Linked DNA regions of Homo sapiens: region 1 is linked to region 2. The links are contacts of gene promoters, found by promoter capture Hi-C in human tissues and cell types (Jung and others, 2019). All regions are on one chromosome and are shown on one strand. Each heading gives the region's core, a stretch centred on a gene start or on the middle of the fragment in contact. The rest is flanking DNA. Distances are from core to core; before and after follow the strand shown.

Evidence for each region. The method cuts DNA at HindIII sites, captures the fragments that hold promoters and counts their contacts. A contact is called where the count stands out against the background at its distance.
Region 1: a contact is called between a fragment that was not itself captured here and the fragment with the promoter of GGT6 in region 2, in 1 of the 25 tissues and cell types used here (dorsolateral prefrontal cortex).

The regions. Positions count from the first base shown.
Region 1 is chr17:4,228,640-4,231,339 of GRCh38, forward strand. All of the region lies in intron 3 of ANKFY1 (ankyrin repeat and FYVE domain containing 1), which reads right to left. Among named protein-coding and RNA genes, the nearest start is that of ANKFY1, 34 kb to the right of the region's middle. The HindIII fragment of the contact is 6,569 bases long and covers 1-2,700 here.
Region 2 is chr17:4,559,135-4,561,834 of GRCh38, forward strand. GGT6 (gamma-glutamyltransferase 6) reads right to left here and starts at 1,443. Exons shown (of 4, transcript NM_001288702.2): 1 at 1,248-1,443; 2 at 424-626; 3 at 209-322. The coding sequence starts at 1,387. The HindIII fragment of the contact is 6,687 bases long and covers 919-2,700 here.

The sequences.
Region 1 (2,700 bases), core at 168-2,667, 330 kb before region 2:
CTCCTGACCTCAAGTGATCCACCCAACTTGGCCTCCCAAAGTGCTGGAATTACAGGCGTGAGCCACCACACCCAGCAAGGATAGAAATGTTTATGTTGATTGTGGCAGTGGCTTCACAGGTGTATTCGTATGTCAAAACTTATCCAATTGCACACTTTTAATGTGGGCAGTTTACTGTACTTCCATTACACCTCAATTTGGAGGAAAAAGAAACCAAACTGACAGGCAGCACGGCACTGTGGTTAATGGCACGAATTCTGCAGCCAAACTACCTAGGGTTCAAATCCCGGCTCCAATCCTTGCTAACTGTGTGGAGTTAATACATAATAAAGCACTCAAAACACCACCACCACATAGTAACTGCTATGTAAAAACTTGCTATTATTACAATAGACTATTTAGAAATTGATCACAATGAAAACAGTACCTACCAAAATATTTGCAATGTAGTCAGATTCATACTATAAAAAAAAGTCATAGTCTTAACCTTATTAGAAAATGAGGCCAGGCATGGTGGCTCACACCTGTGATCCCAGCACTTTGGGGGGCCGCAGTGGGTGGATCACCTGAGGTCAGGAGTTCAAGACCGGCATGGCCAACGTGGCAAAACCCCATCTCTACTAAAAATACAAAAATTAGCCAGGCGTGGTGGCGGGCACCTGTAATCCCAGCTACTCAGGAGGCTGAAGCAGGAGAATCACTTGAGCCCAGGAGGTGGAGGTTGCAGTGAGCTGAGATCACACCACTGCACTCCAGCCTGGGTGACAGAGTGAGGCTCTGTCTCAAAAAAAAAAAAGAAAATGAGATAAAAGATAGTAATTCAACTCAAAAAGAAAAAATAATTCAAAGGAATTTCAAAGAAAGATTTAATACAGATAAAAAGAAATTATTGAATTGGCTAAATATAAATAAAAATTAAAAGAACAATGAACCTAAACCAAATCTGCAATAAGCCAACACAAACACAAACTTAACATAACCAAAGATTGGTGAGAAAAACCCAAAAGCAGTATGAGGATTAAGTAAAGAATATAACCGCAGATAAAATAGATTATTTTGAGCTCTGAGAGAATCTTTGGGCATGGGACTCAGCTGCTGGCAGGAGGCCACAAGGCTGTTTGAGTGTCCTCATGACATGGCCGCTAACGTTCCCCCAAAATGAGCAATCCAAAAGAGAGAGCTAGGAAGAAGCCACAGTGCCTTCGATGAAGCCATCTCTCAAGTCACATGCTGCCACTTCTACCACACTCCATTCATTAGAGGTGAATCAGCCTATACTGAAGAGGAGAATTTGAATCCACCTTTGCAGGGAGAAATAGCAAAGAATTTGTGAGCATATTCTTTTTTACTCCTTTTTGTGAGCATATTCTAAACTTCCCGTGGATGTCATCGAAGGAACACAGTATGATTTAATACTGAAACTGAACAGCCTTAACCTAGTAGTTCACACAGTAGCCAACAGATGTTGAATATTGCTGTGCTTCTCTTAAAAATTTAAATAGCACACAGCTCCCCGAGTACACAGTTTGGGAAACTATGCCCTTTCCACTGCAGAGTGCAAGCTTTCCAGATGGTGCTTCAGGGGATAGCTTTCCCAACCAGAGTGAAAAGGAATAAAGGAGGATGTTTTCTGCTGTTTGGAATGGCTTGACACTATCCAGGACACATTCCAGGAGAGCTGAATGACTCATACCCTGAGCCCTTATGCCAAGGAACTGTAAGATCTTTGCTTGAGAAAGTATGCAACAAACTCTAGCTTCAAAACAGCCATTCTAATCCATTGGAACCTCTCATCGTGTCAGCTGCTACTGGTAAAGTGCTACAGAGAGGCCATAAACAGATCATTTTGCTAGAAGCAAATTGCTTTACTTCACCAAGAAGTAAATATAATACTTTCCTTGTGGACTCAGATTTGTTATGCTTTGCTGAGCTAACAGTCATATTCTTTCTCTTCCCACTTGGTCAATCAGTATCTTTATAAACTTTTATCTTTTATTCTTTTTTATTAGGGTTTAACAGACAAAAATTATATAGAGTTAATGTATGACATGTTTTGATATATGTATGCACTATGAAATGGTTATAAGCTAATTAACATATCACTTCATATATTTAAAGATACCTTAGTAAGAAATAAAAAAGCAAATTTCTACTTTGTTTACATTTTCAGATACTTTCATACTTTGAGAAAAGCTGCAGAGCATCCCCATATGCCCTTTACTCATCTTCCCCTATTATTAATACAGCTTATATAACCATAGTACAATGATCAAAATTAGGTAACTACGTAATACATACAATACCAATACCATTAACTAATTATAGGCCCTATTTTGCCAATTTTACCAGTAATACCCTTTTTATGGCCAGAATCCAACTGAGGATTCTACACTGCATTCAGTGTTAGTCTCACCCAATCTGTAATACTTCCTAAACCATTCTTGTTTTTCATAACCTTGACATGTTTGAGAAACACTCTGGCTGATTATTTTGAGAAATGTCCCTCAATTTGGGTCTGATGTTTTCTCATGAGTAGATTGAGGTTATGCATTAATGGCAAAAATCCTATACAAGAGCCAGGCAGAGTGGCTCATGCCTGAAATTCCAACACTTTGGGTAGCCAAGGCAGGAGGATCATCTGAGCCCAGGAGTTTGAGACCAGCCTTGGCAACACAGCAAGAGCCCATCTCTATTAAACAA
Region 2 (2,700 bases), core at 193-2,692:
AGCCTGGGATCAGGAGTTACTGACCAGGCCTGAGGTCAAAGTTCCACAGACCCGGGCTCAAGGGTCATAGCCTGGGGTTGGACTGCTGCCCAAACCCTAAGTCCTGCTCACTTAGCAGTCTTGAGGTCAGTGCTACTGACTCCCTAAGTTCCAGGTCACTGATCAGGCTGTGGGTTGGGGTTGCAGTCTGGGGTCAGGGGTCACTGACCTAGCCCCGTGGCATGAGGATGCACCACTGCCAGGCACAATGCAGCTCCAACTCCAGCATCCACGACGTTGCCCCCGGCAACAAGCAGCTCTCGGCCTAGGTGGGAGCATGTGGCTGCAGCAAGGAAGGCACTGTCATGCAGCAAGGAGGGGGGCTAGGCTGGGCTGGTGACCCCTGACCCTCCCCTCCCCAAGCCGCCCCCAGCACTGACTGACCTGCAGGGCTGATGATGGCACCGTGGTGGTATACGCCAGGGCCGTGGGAGTGTCCGCCGGGTGGAGGGGCCACAGAGCCCAAGCTTCCTGTCGACCTGCCCTGATTCTGGAGCTGCCTCACAGCCAGGGAGCAGCCAACAGCCAGCAGCAGCAGGGCTGCCACTACACGGGCCCAGGTTCCGGGCAGCCCGCCAGCCTTGTTCCTGCAGAGGGGGGGTGTCCTGAGCCACGGCTGGGACAGAGGGATGCCCAAGGACCCCAAGAGACCCCAGGGAATATTTCCCAAAAGGTTTGATTTAGCAAGAGGAGCACAAGTCAGCCAAGGAGAAAGGGCTTCTTGGCAGCGGGTGCATCTTGGGCAGACATGGGGATGGGAAAGCATCTGGGGAAACTGAGCCTAGCTAGGGAGGGAGCCTCTGGAGGGGAGATTGGTGGGGCAGAGTCCACTCAGGTGGGAGGGAGGCCCAGTGGGGTGTGGCAGGCAGGAGAGAAGGGGCTGGGGAGCAGGCCCAGCCAGGCGTAGTCAGGCCCCAACCTGCCCAGCAGGTGCCTCCTGCACCAGGACTTGGGGGCTGGGGACCTTTGACAAAGCAGCAGATGGGACAGAGGCTGGCTTGGTACAAATGTCCCTCCAGATGCACAGACTTTTGATTGGGTCAGGCCAAGTCTCGGGCTACAGCCTGGGTTTTCCCCCAAATTGACCGTACAGTGCCTGGAGCTAAACCCAGCGGGGAGTCGCCTGGTCCCCCTGAGGGGCTCCAGAGAGAGGGACTTGCCAACCTCAAGCCTGGGGAGCCTGGTGCCCAGACCCCTCCCTTACTTACCTGGAAGAGTCCTGGTGCCTCCGGGGGTTTAGAACCAGCGCCTCTGATGTCTCCTCCTCCTCCACTTCCTCCTCCGACTCCAAGCTTGGCTCCCAGGGCAGCAGCTTCTGATAGACCACGGGCTCTTCTGCCCGCTCCATGGCCCCCCAGTGCTCGCCCCAGCCCTCCTGCCTGCCAGCCTTTCCGGCTGTGTCTCAGAGGCCCTGCCCAAGCCTGGCAGGTGGGAGGTGGCAGCGACCTTGGGGAAGGGTGGGGGTGGAATCCAGAACAGGTCTGGGCAGGGCACGGGGCCAAGGAGGCTGCATGTGAGCCTGCCCCATTAGGACACAAGGCCCGAGGAGCTCTCGCGACAGGGTTCCCGGGGTGACTGCCTGTAAGGGGCCACAGCTCAGTGAGGTCGAGAAGGAGTTCAGCCTTAATGCCACAACCTTGATACTCAGGGCACCTGCTGGGCTCCTCCCCTTGGGGGATGTAGCCCATGGATCCCACCCACCTGGGACTCTAGGGACTGTGGACTTGAATTAGAGCTACGGTTTCACGGTGGCTTGGGTCAGAGCTCCCACGTGCTTGAGTCTGCACGTGACTAGGTTCTGGCGTAGGGGTGTCTGGTCTCTGGCCGGGGTCAAGGCTCAGCCTGTGGCTACTCTGGGTCTGGGTTTCTTTGAGGAGCAACTTGGTTCGTAACTCCCTGTGCGTGTTTTGCGACTCTTGTCCAGAAGGTAGCGCCACAGCCTGGAAACCAACATTTCTAAATTCATTCTGGGATTCCCATCAAGGACTTGTTGCAAAACAGTGCTGTTTGTAACAGTCCCAAATTGGAAAGTGCCCAAACATCCATTATCGTTAGAATGAATGATGTAAGTCACAATGGACCACTCTGCAGCAAAGAGAGTGAGTGATCTACAATTATATGCAATAATATACACAGGTCTGACAAGCATAAGGACGAGGGAAAGCAGCCAGGCAGGAGACAGCGCACGCTATATGCTTTCATTTACACAAAGTACACAAACAGGCAACAACAAAAGAGCAACAACAGTCTGCCCTTAGAAGTCAGATAGTGACTGGAGGAGGTACCAGGGGGTTTCTGGAATGCTGGAGATGTCCTTTCTTTCCTTCCTTTCTTTCCTTTCCTTTTTCCTTTACCTTTCTTTTCTTTCTCTTCTTTCTTTCTTGACAGAGTTTTCATTCTTGTTGCCCAGGCTGGAGTGCAATGGTGCAATCTCAGCTCACTGCAACTTCCACCTCCTGGGTTCAAGCAATTCTTCTGCCTCAGCCTCCCGAGTAGCTGGGATTACAGGCACATGCCACCACGCCTGGCTAATTTTTTGTATTTTTAGTAGAGACAGGGTTTCACCATGTTGGCCAGCCTGGTCTTGAACTCTTGACCTCAGGTGATCCGCCCGCCTCAGCCTCCCAAAAGTACTAGGATTACGGGTGTGAGCCACCGCGC